2 separate regions of the Homo sapiens genome follow, and region 2 is linked to region 1. The links are contacts of gene promoters, found by promoter capture Hi-C in blood cells and fetal thymus (Javierre and others, 2016). All regions are on one chromosome and are shown on one strand. Each heading gives the region's core, a stretch centred on a gene start or on the middle of the fragment in contact. The rest is flanking DNA. Distances are from core to core; before and after follow the strand shown. Region 1 holds the start of CALHM3 (calcium homeostasis modulator 3). Region 2 overlaps PDCD11 (programmed cell death 11).

Region 1 (7,118 bases), core at 3,818-6,317:
TTCCAACACTTTGGGAGGCCGAGGAAGGAGAATCACTTGAACCCAGGAGGCTGAGGCTGCAGTGAGCCATGATCGTGCCACTGCATCCAGCCTGGGCAACAGAGTGAGACCCTGTTTCAAAAAGAAAAAAAGTATTATCAACCAGGGAAACAGTTCCATGTTCTGTTCCTCAGTCAGAAACAATGTTAAGATTTAAACCTGATTATTTTGTTTTATGTCAATAATAATACTTTAATATTATTATTATTACTATTTGAGATGGAGTCTCGCTCTGTTGCACCCAGGCTGGAGTGCAGTGGTGGGATCTCCGCTCACTGCAACCTCCGCCTCCCGGGTTCAAGTGATTCTCTTGTCTCAGCCTCCTGAGTAGCTGGGATTATAGGCACACACCACCATGCCCAGCTAATTTTTTTTTTTTTTTTTTTTTTTGAGACGGAGTCTCGCTCTGTCGCCGAGGCTGGAGTGCACTGGCGCGATCTCGGCTCACTGCAAGCTCCGCCTCCTGGGTTCACGTCATTCTCCTGCCTCAGCCTCCCGAGTAGCTGGGACTACAGGCGCCCGCCACCACACCCAGCTAATTTTTTGTATTGTTTAGCAGAGACAGGGTTTCACCATGTTAGCCAGGATGGTCTCGATCTCCTGACCTCGTGATCCACCCGCCTTGGCCTCCCAAAGTGCTGGGATTACAGGCGTGAGCCACCGCGCCCAGCCAATTTTTTTGTATTTTTAGTAGAGACAGGGTTTCACCATGTTGGCTAGGTTGGTCTCGAACTCCCGACCTCAGGTGATCCGCCCGCCTTGGCATCCTAAAACGCTGGGATTACAGGCATGAGCCACCACATCTGGCCTGCTTCATTCTTTTAATGACTGCATGGATCCCATTTTATGGCTGTGTCATATTTTATTTAAACAGTCCCCTGTTGATGAAATTTAGATTGCTTCCAGTTTGATTGTCATTAAAAGAGCTATAATGAACATTCTTGTTTGTTTATCATGGCTCCTTCTGCAAAGCTACCCATGGGATGAATACAGACTTTGTAATTACTAAGTCAAAGGGCATGTGTATTTAAATTTTTGCTTTAAATGTATTGCTAAACTGTTCCATGAAAAACCTACCCATTTGTACTCCAACCATAGATGAAAAGTAGCTATTTCCTTAAGCCTCATCAACACTGGGAAGTATCAATCTTTCAGTTGCTAACAACTTGGCAATTTTTAAAGGCAACTGGTGGTTTCATTTCTTATTTAATTATGAATGAGGATTAGAATTTTTTCAGGATGTTTGGTCACTTTTCTCTCTCTCTCTCTTTTTTTTTTTTTTTTTTTTTTTTTGCAAATAACCTGTTCAAATCCTTTACCCATTTTTCTAGAGGATTGTTCGTCTTTTGGATTGATTTATATGAGCCTTCTGCAAATTAAGAAAAAGAGGCCTTTGTGTGGCAAATACCCTTCCTTCAGTTTGTTATTTTTATTTTGTTTATTGGTATGTTTGCCCATAGAAGCGTCTAGTTTTTATGACTCTTACTTGTCCATCTACTCCTCTACAGCTACTAAATTCTGGGGTCTGTTCACAAAGGCCTTCCTTAGCCTCTGATTATGAATAAATTCCCTTACGTTTTCCTGTAGAATTTTTATGATTTTAATTTTTATGTTGAATCTTTGAACCATGTGAAAATTATTTTGGTATGAAGCATGAAGTAGAGATTGCTCCCGAATGGCTAGCCAGTTGTTCCAGCGCCATCTGTTAGATGGCCCCATTTCATTTCCAGCCTGTCTCTGCCCTTAGGGCTACACGGCTCTGTGGAGTCACCAGAGTGGGGCCCACAGAAGTGCCACGTTGCTTTCCCCGGGTCTGCCAGGACCGCTCAAAGGCCTGTGTCCTCAGGGAAGCAGAGAATCACGCCACCGAGAGACAGAAAGGGCACCACCCTCTGCTAGACACACAGAACAACAGTCTCCCAGTCCTGAGAAGTGGGACGCACGTTCAATGCCTTCCCTGTGAAGGAAAAAGAAAAGAAAGAACTGTCAGGGGAGGGCATACTCACCATATACAAAGTAGGAAGACGGCCACACCCATATGTATGAAAACACACATGCATACACACACCAAATATGTACACATGCACTACGCACATACACATACATGTGTACACACATGCATACACAGGTACATAGACACATCTCTCACACATCACATACAACGAGTTTCTCCAGTAGGGGGCATCTAGTCCTAAACAGCCCTCTCAATAACAGGAACTCCAAGAACGGTGAAGCCAGTGTTTCTCAAATAATATCCAGACTCCTTTGCAAAGATCAAAAAAAACTGGAAGACCCCCAAGAATATATCTGCAAGACTCCAATTTGAAAATAAAACAAAATAACATGAAGAAAGTACCAAAGATTTATTCTATAAAGATCTTCCAATTGCAAATTAACACATATTTACAACTGGTTTTAAAAAAAAAAAAAAGATTAAATCATTATTAAAAAGAAAAATGTAATTTATTTTTAGTCTCTCTTTGTTGCCCAGGCTGGAGAGCAGTGGCATGATCTGGGCTCACTGCAGCCTCCGCCTCCTGGGTTCAAGCAATTCTCATGCCTCAGCCTCAAGAGAGGCAATTCTCAAGCCTCAGCCTCCCAAGTAGCTGGGATTACAGGCATGCACCACTATGCCCGACTAATTTTTTGTATTTTTAATAGAGATGGGGTTTTGCCATGTTGGCCAGGCTGGTCTCAAACTCCTGAGCTCAGGCAATCTGCCTGCCTCGGCCTCCCAAAGTGCTGGGATTACAGGCGTGAGCCACCACGCCCGGCCAGATCTGCAATTTAATATCTTTCCATATGTGTGAGTAAAAGAAGCCTTTCTCCATTTATTGCTGCCTCTAGTTCTCTCTCTACTAGTTCAGCAGGGCCAAGCTCCAGGCAACAAAATGGAATTCTCCTTTTTGCCTTGTCCTTTTATCTTTTTATGTTTTTCTAATTAAAATGTTTTATGATTTTTGCTGGAAATAGTTAAAAATCATTATTATGATTATAGTAATGATTTATTATGTCTACTATTATAAAAGTCGACAATTCAGAAAATAGAGATTTAAAAAAAAATGTAAGCCATCCCCTCTCTTTGACAGATAATATCCCTTTTGTGGTGGGCTTCTTTCTGGCCTGTTTCTTTACTGAAGTATTTCCTGTAAATACCCGGCAAGGGTCAGCCCCGCTGCAGTCACTCAGCACCTGTTGCCCTGCAGGGCTCCAGGGACCCAGGCTGACCTGGTAGCTCTGTCTTACCTCTCAGAGGCTGGAGCTGTGAAAAGGTTGGCCTGGAGTCTTTGACCCAGTTTTCTTCAAAGTGTTCTTCCAGAAGCATTGTCTATTGTTTTCTGAACTCTCAAGGTTAGAGTGGCTGGGGACCCTTAGGACACTCTATCCCTCCCTGAGACTAGAATGGGATTGAGGGGTGCTCATGACCCTCCCAGCCCAGTTAGCTCCCCGCCTGCTCCACACCAGCCCTGCTGGTTCAGGGTCACGAAGCCTGGCCTTGGGCCAGGACAGTCCCCTTTTCTGGTCAGCAGCCCAGTGGGTGACTAAGGCTGAAAGGCACAGATGGAGGATCCCAGCTTCCTCCCTGGCTCTGTCCCCGCCAGGGTATGTGACCTCCAACAGCCCCTCTGGGACTGTACCCACCTGAAGTTGTGGTGGTCCTCCTGGCTTGAAGGGTTTCTCACCCCTGCCCCGCCCTCTCCTCCGCTCAGAGTCAGACTCACAGGGCCACTGGTGGCTCTCCCCATCTTCTCCAGTGCCTCATTTCCCTCACACAGGGAAATCTGTCTCATAGGACCTAGAGTAACGTACAAATATGGAAAATAAAAATACTAAGTGGCCAGGCTCAGTGGCTCATGCCTGTAATCCCAGCACTTTGGAAGGCCAAGGGGGCCAAATCACCTGAGGTCAGGAGTTCGAGACCGGCCTGACCAACATGGCAAAACCCCTGTCTCTACTAAAAATACAAAAATTAGCTGGGCGTGGTGGTGGGTGCCTGTAATCCCAGCTACTTGGAAGCTGAGGCAGGAGAATCACTTGAACCCGGGAGGCAGAGGCTGCAGTGAACCAAGATCGTGCCACTGCACTCCAGCCTGGGTGACAGAACAAGACTCTATCTCATAATAATAATAATAATAAGTAAGACCCAGGTTTCTGTCTGTCTTCATCAGAAGTACAGACCACACAGATGGTTACGAAATTTGCAAGACTTATTTGGGATGATCTGACTTACAATATGGGCCAAGTGACCTTTACAAAATTCGTTTTGCAGGTTTCAGGGGTCCCTCAAACATCTGGGCTGTCATCCTTCGGAGAGACTGGAACTGAGACACAAGGAGAGACCTAGTGATGTGGGAGAGTTAGGAGAAGAAGCAGTGATTTCAAACGCATGCCCCTCACACGGAAGAAGGGCAGGGGGAAAGCCATGCAGGTGTGGGCGTGGCACTTGAGCAGCCTCTCCCATGGGCACCCAGTGGTTAATGCACAATGTTTAGCACGTCGCCCAGGGAGGCCATCCCCTTCCGCTACCCCTTTCATGGCAAATGCTGAAACATCGTTGAAGACTCCTCTCAAGGGTCTCCTCTTCCAGGAAGCCTTCGGTCAGGAATAGGTGCCCCTTCTGGCTCCTCCTAGCCTGAAAGCCAACATGAAATCTCCCTGGGCTGAGCTGAGTCGTCATATTTTGTTGTTGTTGTTGCTGTTGTTTTACTATGCCTGTGAGACAAGTTCAGAGTCATGCTTTTGATCAAGACCAGAAAATATACTACCTTGGCTCCATCAGCATCTTTTCCTCACCACACCCAGAATTTGCCTGTCCCCCGAAGGAAGCTCCAACGGCTGTCAAGCCTGAGCATCCAGACCGTAAAGCAAAGAGAAATGGGCCGGGAGGAATGGAGTGACAGGGCGGGGCCCATTTGCCTAGAGGTGCTTTGGGCTGCCCGGTCACAGAGGGTGACTCACTCCCCCAGACAGGAGGGGAGTGGCACCAGGGGACCATTGGGCTGGGCAGGGGAGCCTTTGTGGTGAGAGCCTGTCCCTGCCTTAAGTGCCTACTGGATCCCGGGAGCCTGGGCTGGGGCCTGGGCACTGCTTCCTCCTTGGCCCCTCAGGCCCTTGGAAGCAGAGAGAGAACCTCTTGCAGATCCCAGGCTCGTCCCCAGCACAGCAGACACCAGGAAGGTGGCCAGAGCCTCACTGAGCCGAACCGACGGCCGCCCACCCACCCAGGCTGGAGCCATGGATAAATTCCGCATGCTCTTCCAGCACTTCCAGTCAAGCTCGGAGTCGGTGATGAATGGCATCTGCCTGCTGCTGGCTGCGGTCACCGTCAAGCTGTACTCCTCCTTTGACTTCAACTGTCCCTGCCTGGTGCACTACAATGCACTCTACGGCCTGGGCCTGCTGCTGACGCCCCCGCTCGCCCTGTTTCTCTGCGGCCTCCTCGCCAACCGGCAGTCTGTGGTGATGGTCGAGGAGTGGCGCCGGCCCGCAGGGCACCGGAGGAAGGACCCAGGCATCATCAGGTGCGGTCCCACACCACTCAGTGACCCATGAGCTTTGCCAGGGGCTCCCCAGCCACCCCACAGGCACTGTCAAGTGCACCCCCAGACCCCAACCATTCTCATTATCAGGGGATTCTCCACCCACCCTACAGGTACTGCCAGGTGCGCCCTCTCCTTTCCCCAACTAGGAATTATCGGCTCACAGAGAGCCACTTGCCAGTTTCCACTCTGGAAACATATTTCTGTTCCTATCGTTTGTCACCTTTCCGTGGCCAGTGCTGTAAACATAGGAATGACACAGGATTCCCAATTACCCAGGCCACTCTAGGGGCTGCGGGAAAACTTCCTCTTTGCCCTCTGAAGCTCTGCTGAAAATCAACTGACAAAAGGCAGATTAATAAGAGAAAAGGCATACAAATTTATTTGATTACCGTTTTATGTGCCACAGAACCTTCAGAATAAAGACCTAAAGATACAGAGGAAATGGTTCATTTTTATGCTTAGGTTCAACAAGGTTTGGATAGCCACGCAGAAATAGAATTGGATTAAAAAAGGGATGAACTGATGTTATAGACGGAGTGGGGAAACTCAGCAAGGCCATCTAGGTTCTTCTTGGCCTCTCTATACAGTGTTCCTTTCTCCCAGACACGGGGCAGGACCCTCTCTAGAAGGGAGTCTTATGATCTACAATGAAACTAGGTAGGTCAGATCATTTCTTTACGGCCAGTTTTCAGACAGAAAGGCGGGGGGAAATTAGAATCATATTTTTAGGTTTTATGGTGGCAGCTTTGGAGAAAAGGAGTTCTGGTTTCTATGACCCACCTTGGGGAAGATGGATTCTAGTTTCTATGGCTAGCCTTGGGGGAAAATAAGGAGCCAGAGATTGGGTGGGGGGGCCAGGCGCGGTGGCTCTCACCCGTAATCCCAGCACTTTGGGAGGTCGAGGCGAGTGGATCACCTGAGGTCAGGAGTTCGAGACCACTCTGGCCAACATGGCAAAACCCCCATCTCTACTAAAAAATATAAAAAATTAGCTGGGCGTGGTGTTGGGCACCTGTGGTCCCAGCTACTCAGGAGGCTGAGGAAGGAGAATCGCTTGAACCTGGGAGGCAGAGGTTGCAGTGAGCTGAAATCGTGCCACTGCACTCCAGCCTGTGCGACAGAGCAAGACTCAAAAAAGACAAAAAAAGAAAAGAAAATGCTAAAGCCACCACTGCCTAGAACATATTTACAGCTCACACTGGGTAGGCCATGCACGCACACACCTGGCACACACCATTGGATGTTTTGTGTACAATCCAATTCAGAAACAACATCTGCATCCGGTGCACCCTCAGCCTCTGTTCCATGTTCTCAGGGATCACATCTCCCTGCAATTCAGCTGTGCAGGGTGGGTCACAGGCACTGGGTGTGTCCTTGGCCTTTTCCTCTGGGGTCCAGTGGGCACAGCTCCACTGGGCTCCTGTCCTGTGGCCAATACCCAGTCGAGGTCACTACAGGCAGGGGCAGAGTTGATCTGGAAAGGCGCCTGAGGCCGGTCAGAGGGTGGGCTCCTGGGATGCCTTGTGGGTAGGGGTG
Region 2 (7,313 bases), core at 3,783-6,282, 65 kb after region 1:
CTGCACACTACAGCTGAGAATCACGGTTTTATTCCATTCCCGATTCACTAATCTGCAGATTACTAGAGGACACCAAAAAGGGATGGCTCATCCCCCTGGTCTGGCAGCTGGATCAGCCATCACACAATCCTCTACTACTCCCTCTTTACACTGATGAACTCATTTTCCCTCCTCTGCCCATTTTTACTCCCAGGAGAATGAACTTTACATTCTGTGAGAAGCTCCTTCAAAGCACCCATGCAAAGACCAAAGGGAATATTCCTGAGCCTATAGCCCCGCGGGGAGAAGGCATAGGGGAAAAAAAAAAAGAGGAAAGGGGGACAGAAGCCACCTTATTATTGGTTCTAACCCAAGGGGCAGGCACTGAAAGCCCCAAGAAAACTAGATGTGCTCCCAAGCACCCCACTGGGCCTCCTTCTCCAGCCTCCGAGAGTCCCCCTCTCTGCAACCTTTCAGGCTACTCCGCCCTGACCACCAGCATCTGCTGGCAGCACTTACTCAGGCCTGCTCTTACTTTCCATAGCACAGGCTTCATCACTGGTTTGGTTTTGTGGAGATATTTCTGAGGTCAAATAGCTGTCTAATTTCCCCAGAATTTCCCATCCAAGCACCCATGGCCCCCCACCTTCCTCTGCTCCACAGATACCAGTCAAGGATACAACACGCCCCTCGCTCTGGCTCAGACACAGGACTCGGTGAAGGATGTCACCTGCCTGGAGCCAATGATGTAACAATGGGCCGTTGGCAACGTGGTCCGACAGATGAGATGTGGGGAGGAAAGCACGGATGTTGTGGGGCAGGACAGCCACCTCCAGCCCATCTTTGGTCTTCTCTAAAACCTTCACATCTACCAACTACCCAGGGAAGAGAAAGACAAAAATAGCACTTGTCATGAACAGAGAACAACCTGGTCTGGATTAGGCAGGGCTTGGAGGCATTAAACTCCGGCACCAAGGATCTCTAAGAGGCAGCTTTCTTCCAAACCCCACCCACCACCCCAACCACCCAGCATGCATGTACGTGCACATTCACCAGGACTCATGGGTGGACCCATCGCACTCCTCTCTCAAGTCCCTCCACGGAGCCCCAGGAAAGCCAGAACTGCAGGCTGGCCCTAGGGACCCGAGAGGAAAGAGGTCAGCAGCCCACTGCTGAAAAGCCTCACTGTAACAGGACTTTCAGGGACAGCTTCCATTTGTTCTGACACACAGGAAGGAATGCGTATGAACCCCTCTAGCCCCAAAATCTTATCTAGCTACCTCTATCTTTCCGCTTCGTGGGTTCCAATATGCCATGTGTTAGTGGTTCCCTGCTCTCTGCCACTGTAACATAAAATAGCTTGTCCAGAGAAGTCCACGTACCTGCCCAATGTTAATGGCTTTTCCTTTCTTCTGACTGTGTCCTGCAGGCTCTTTCTTTGGCTCTGGATCACTCGACAGCTTGAAGGATAAGAGCATCCTCTCTTTGGATGGCTCACAGTTCAATACGACAACCTTCACCACCTGGCAAGAAACCACACAGGCTTGGCCAACTCCTCCCAGCAAGCCTTGCAGGCCCTGCAACGTGCCCTCCACTACTGCTGCAGAGGACTTGGGAGATCTACCGAGCCTTTGGATCAGATCAGGAGGCAGTGAAAAGAAGAAATGCACTGAGAGCTACACAATCCCCCAGGGCAGCCTTTGGGATAAATGGAAGACATAAGTAACTTTTTTTGTACAATCCAAGTCTTAAAAATTATTTTTCTTTTTGAGGTGATGGAGATGCTAATTACCCTGGTTTGATCGTTACACATTGTAAGCATGTATTGAAATATCACATGGTGGCCAGGCTTAGTGGCTCAGGCCTGTAATTCCAGCACTTTGAAAGGCCAAGGCAGGCTGATCACTTGAAGCCAGGGAGTTCGAGACCAGCCTGGCCAACATGGCAAAATCCCATCTCTACTAAAAATACAAAAATTAGCCGGGTATGCCGGCACATGCCTGTAGTCCCAGCTACTTGGGTGGCTGAAGCACGAGAATCACTTGAGCCTGGGAGGTGGAGGTTGCAGTGAGCTGAGATCACGCCATTGCACTCCAGCCTGGGTGACAGAGGAAACTCTGTCTCAAAAAAAAAAAGGAAAAGAAAAAAGAAATATCATATTGTACCCCATAAATATGTACAATTATTATCTATCTGTTTAAAGTCGTTTAAAGGAATAAAAAAATGCTTTTCCTAGTGATACCAAGACTTACTAGTTTTACAGCACTGCCCCCATGTGGTGACAGTGACCTCAAAACAATTTCCGATATGAGAGGCACAGGTTTATTACAAGTAAAGACTGACCTCTTCCATGCGTGCCTGAGATCCATCAGCTTGCCAGCTTCTGCTGAACCCCGCTGAGGCTTTCTCTCTGTTCTGTTCCCCGTCTCCTCCATTTAGCCGGCTCACACCCACTGCCCCATGTGCTCTCTTCCTCAGCCTCCTAAAGGCAGCCCCACTACTTACTGCTCCTTCATATTTGTGTTTGTGGGGTCACCAAGGGTAAAGGGGACCTGTCTAGGGGAAGGGTTACCTGGCCAGTGTAAAAAACTCTCTCCGGGTCAGGGATATACTCAGTACTGAGCTCATGCTTGGGCACCAGTCCCTGCACATTGTTGTAGAACTTCACAATGCAGCCATAGTCCTTGACCCTGATGATGAAGCCATGTGTCTGCAGACCAGGCTTGGCATCGGCATAGCAGGTAATGACAGGTAGTTTGGACTCAATCAGGGTTTTTTTCAGGGTCATCATCAGCTTCTTGGCTTCAGGGTCACAAAGCAAAACCTAGGGGAGGGACACAGGCTGTCATCAAGTTATCTGTTATCATGAGAGCCACTGAGCTGGTCTCTGCAACCTCTTAAACCCAAAAGCCACGGGGCCATTCCCCAAGAACCTGCTATAGCTTTTCCTCTAATCATCTCAGTGGCAGATTCTTCCTGCTGTATGACAATCTGGAGCATACAAATCACTATTTCAAATGTAATTCCTCCCATAAATTGCTGCAAACTACCCTCTCCTGACCATGAAGCAACATTAATTATCTTACATCACCTCTATGGAGTCTTGGTTACACTAACTTCTACACCATCTTGGCTCCTTCCTAGTGGGCTTTGCATCTAGTCTAACAGAACCAATGATGAACCAATTTACCACCTTAGTACTGCCGTTTATTAGCTATGAAATAAGATGGAGATGCAACTGTCTTTCACCCCTTCAGAAGGTCATCTCCTTAAAGACAGAAAAAGTATTTTTAACCCTTGATCCCACTACTGTAAAATTTTGCACCAATGGGCAATCATTACCTCTGCTGAGTCAATAACGATGAGATAAACTGAATACCGGAAAATCTAACATGCTGAGTGCCTGCCCGTGGAGCACTCTTGTGTGCATCATCATGTTGGATCTTCACAACCCTATGAAGCTTTCCTTCGGATTCGAGCCTTTGTCATAAATCACCCATGTTTTGGCAGCTTTGCCAGGGCTATTTCTGTGCCTAGAACACAACCTTTGCTCTCCCCAACCTTCCAAATCCTACCTATCCTTTCAAGTTCCACCTCTGCCAGAAATCTAGAAAACATTATTGTCATACAGAGCTGAATTGTTCTGCCATGTATTAGCTGTGTGACTCTGGGCAAGACGGTTGGCTTTCCGAAGCTTTAATTTCCCCACCCGCAAAATGAAGATAATAGTGCTTAATTGTTAGGGTTGTTTCAAGGATTAAATGAAATAATGCTTGTCACATGCCTAGCATAGAAACTGGCACGGAATACCTGTTCGTGGCAGTCCTGTTCGTGGCAGTCGCTACTGATAACGTCAACAATTCTGGCTGCTCCAGCCCACCCTCACCTCCCCTTTCTCAGGTGTGACCACAGCACACAACCTGCACCAAGCCACATGGCAAAAGATCACAGGCTGGCTTGCTCTCTCATCACGTATGAATATTTTAACTCCCAATTATACTACACAAAACGGGGACTCACTTTTCTCTTCCCAATGCCAGGTACAGCACAAGACACACTACAGACATTACACACTCACTTTGTGGAAAAAGGCAGAAACTTCAGTTGAGAACTGCTTTCTTCCCATCTAGCCAAAACCCCAAGAGACCCTTCAGGAGGCTCACCCGGCACTTGACCTCATCCCCGATGTGGTACTTCTTCTCCGGATTCTTCATCAGGATGTCAGCCAGGTGCATGGGAGGTACCAGGCCCCTCATCTGCTCGCCCACCTTCACCAGCATCCCATATGACTTTATGGTTAGCACTGTGCCCTAGAGAATCCAAAGATAAGCTGCCACAATGTCTCAAGAATGGCCTTTCCCCCACCTCTTACAACAAGGCATGTCATACCTCCCCTTCACAGCCAACTTCCTGGGCTAACTGTGCCTGTTATTCCAGATGGCACATGGGTGAAGCACACACCCCACACTGAGCTGGATTATTCTGTCAGCTTTATTTATGGGAGCCTTCACATCTTTCTGTGTGAGCATGTGCTTTCTGTGTGCCTTAAAATACATTCCCCAAAGGAAGGGACTATGTCAAGGTCTCCTAAGGAATAAACTCTACATATAAAGGGAGCTGCTCGATTAGAGCCAAATGGTCGGACAGGACAGGTACCTGGAACTGGCTTCTCACTAATATCCCAGGTAGATCAATAATCACAGGACTAACTTTTGATCAGGTCTACTAACCACCATCAAATCCCAAATCTCAGGATTTATGATCTACTGCCTTTGTGTAGCTGGGTGGTGCTAGTAAGATCTTACCTTGAAATTAACTATGAGTTACCCAAAGAAAGAGAAAGAAATTCTAGTCAGCAGGCAGAAGCAAGGAACATGACATTCAATGTGTTAACATGAGGACTAACGGGCTGACAGTCACCTGTGCGTGAACTAAAGAACGCCTGATGGTGAGGCAGTACCTAATTATATGCTTGAGGTCTTACCTTTACCACTGCCCCAGGTTCGATGTCATGATATCTAAGGTACTGAGCTTCAATAATAGACCTAGGACAAGGAGAAAACACAGAATTAAATAAACTAGGGCAGAGGTTGCCTAAAATTCAGGGCTACCACAGGCATGCTGGCAAGAAAGAAAACCCTTCCCAAGCACAGCCAGGAGAAATGGAATATGAACATGTACAGGTGCACATCTCTACACCCCTACCTGTTAATGACAGACTTACGTTCGTAGAGAGAGCAAGGCCAGTTCATCCATTTGGCTGTAGTCAATAATTCTACACTTGTGAGTGTTCCCTGGCTTGAAGGCCTCAGGATTGAAGACGTTCTTAGAATCAGAGAGATGGCTGAGCTGCAAAGTACCAAGTGATTGAGGATAAGCCAGGGACAACAGGTCTGAGCCAATGAGACCTTACAGCCCATAGAGAGGACTCAACACTTATCATGTACCATAAAAACAGTACTTTGATTGCCTGGTTAAGTAATTCTTCACACTAAAAAACTGCTCTTTATCATCACAGAATTTCAGCAAGGTCAGGGAAAGTCCAGAACACAGGTCAGTCAACTGTGCCTAGTGCCTGTTTTTGTAAATAGAAGTTGTATTGGAATACAGCCATCTGTTCATTTACGTACTGTCTATGGCTGCTTTCATGCCATAACAGCAGCGTTGAACAATTAGGACAGAGACCACAGGGCCCACAGCCTAAAGTATTTATGACATAGCCCTTTAAGAAAAACTCTGCTGGGCCCTGGTCTGGATCCTAACTCATCCTTATACTTAACTATTAACCAAGTATCAGATATGGCAAGCTGGTTCTAAGGCATCCTAATACAGTCAATAGACATTGTTCTAATCACTATGAACAGGAATTAGAACTACAATATCCAAAAATTTTAAACTAGCATCAAGGAATGAAAGAAGCAGAAATGGCCCCCTGTGCTCCAGAAGTCCTTCCAGTGATAAGATCCCTGACCAAACAAAGAGGCCTCCTTACCCGGGCATAGGCCAGAACCCCATCCTTCAGCCTAAAGGTGGCCCCAGCCTTTTTGAAAAAACCCTGGACAGGAACATCATCCAGCACTGCTCCAAGGTTCTGGCAAGAGAGTCGGGTGAGTGGGCGTCCAGGCTGTAGGAAGATGGGGCGCAGGCTCAGGTGCACAACTCTGGTTCGAGGATGGACGCAAAGGATGCAGGCCCTCACCTAGACAAAAGGAAGGGCAGGGTGAGCAGGAGGAGGCACACAGGAGCACCCTAGAGCAGACCTTCCAGGCATCAAGCCTTTCCACATGCTAACCAGGTATGTGAGTACTCACATCCTTAGTATGTAAGTACTCAAACTGGCTTCCACACTCAAGCAGAATGCAGAAAAATCAAAATGTCCCATAGGGACTATGTATGACTAAATCAAAGCTTACTCAAGCCAGGTATGGGTGGCTCACACTGGTAATCCCAGCACTTTGGGACACCAAGGCAGGTGGATCACTTGAGCTCAGGAGTTAGAGACCAGCCTGCGCACATAGTGAAACCCTGTCTCAACAAAAAATACAAAAATAGGCTGGGGATCATGGCTCACGCCTGTAATCCCAGCACTTTGGGAGTCTGAGGTGGGCAGATCACTTGAGATCAGGAGTCTGAGACAGCCCAGCCAACATGGCGAAACCTCATCTCTAGTTTTAATAAAAAAAAGTTAGGCTGGAAGCAGTGGCTGATGCCTATAATCCCAGCTCTTTGGGAGGCCGAAGCAGGCAGCAGGCAGATCACGAGGTCAGGAGATCAAGGCCATCCTGGCTAACACAGTGAAACCCCGTCTCTACTAAAAATACAAAAAATTAGCTGGGTGTGGTGGCACACACCTGTAATCCCAGCTACTCAGGAGGCTCAAGCAGGAGAATCGCTTGAACCCAAGAGGCGGAGACTGCAGTGAGCCAAGATCACGCCACTGCACTCCAGCCTGGGCGACAGAGCAAGACTCCGTCTCAAAAAAAAAAATTAGCCGGGCATGGTGGTACGTACCTGTAATTCCAGCTACTCAGGAGGCTGAGGCACAAGAATCACTTAAAATGGGGAGGCAGAGGTTGCAGTGAGCCAACACTGTGCCACTGCACTCCAGCCTGGGTGACAAAGTAAGACTCAGTCTCAAGAAAAAAAAAAAAAGTTAGCCAAGCATGGTGGCATGCACCACTTTGGGAGGCTGAGGCAGGAGAATCACCTGAGTGAGCCCAGGAGGTCAAGGCTGCAGTGAGTGATGATCGTGCCACTGCACTCCAGCCTGGGTGACAGAGTGAGACCCTGTCTCAAAAAATAATAATAAAATAAATAAATAAAAATTAGCCAGA

What was found. Contacts are between HindIII fragments. The CHiCAGO score rates a contact against its expected background, and 5 or more counts as called.
Region 2: a contact is called between a fragment that was not itself captured here and the fragment with the promoter of CALHM3 in region 1, in 5 of 17 cell types (M2 macrophages, M1 macrophages, naive CD8 T cells and 2 more). The highest score is 6.9, in M2 macrophages.

What each region holds. Positions count from the first base shown.
Region 1 is chr10:103,477,189-103,484,306 of GRCh38, reverse strand. CALHM3 (calcium homeostasis modulator 3) reads left to right here and starts at 5,067. Exons shown (of 3, transcript NM_001129742.2): 1 at 5,067-5,561. The coding sequence starts at 5,275. It overlaps NEURL1-AS1 (NEURL1 antisense RNA 1), which reads left to right. Exons shown (of 4, transcript NR_120675.1): 4 at 4,310-4,704. RefSeq lists an enhancer at 6,509-7,118. The HindIII fragment of the contact is 14,732 bases long and covers 1-7,118 here.
Region 2 is chr10:103,411,981-103,419,293 of GRCh38, reverse strand. It overlaps PDCD11 (programmed cell death 11), which reads right to left. Exons shown (of 36, transcript NM_014976.2): 9 at 5,972-6,178; 10 at 5,204-5,328; 11 at 4,964-5,024; 12 at 4,143-4,289; 13 at 2,552-2,803; 14 at 1,362-1,502; 15 at 660-854. Among named protein-coding and RNA genes, the nearest start is that of PDCD11, 19 kb to the right of the region's middle. The HindIII fragment of the contact is 2,714 bases long and covers 3,676-6,389 here.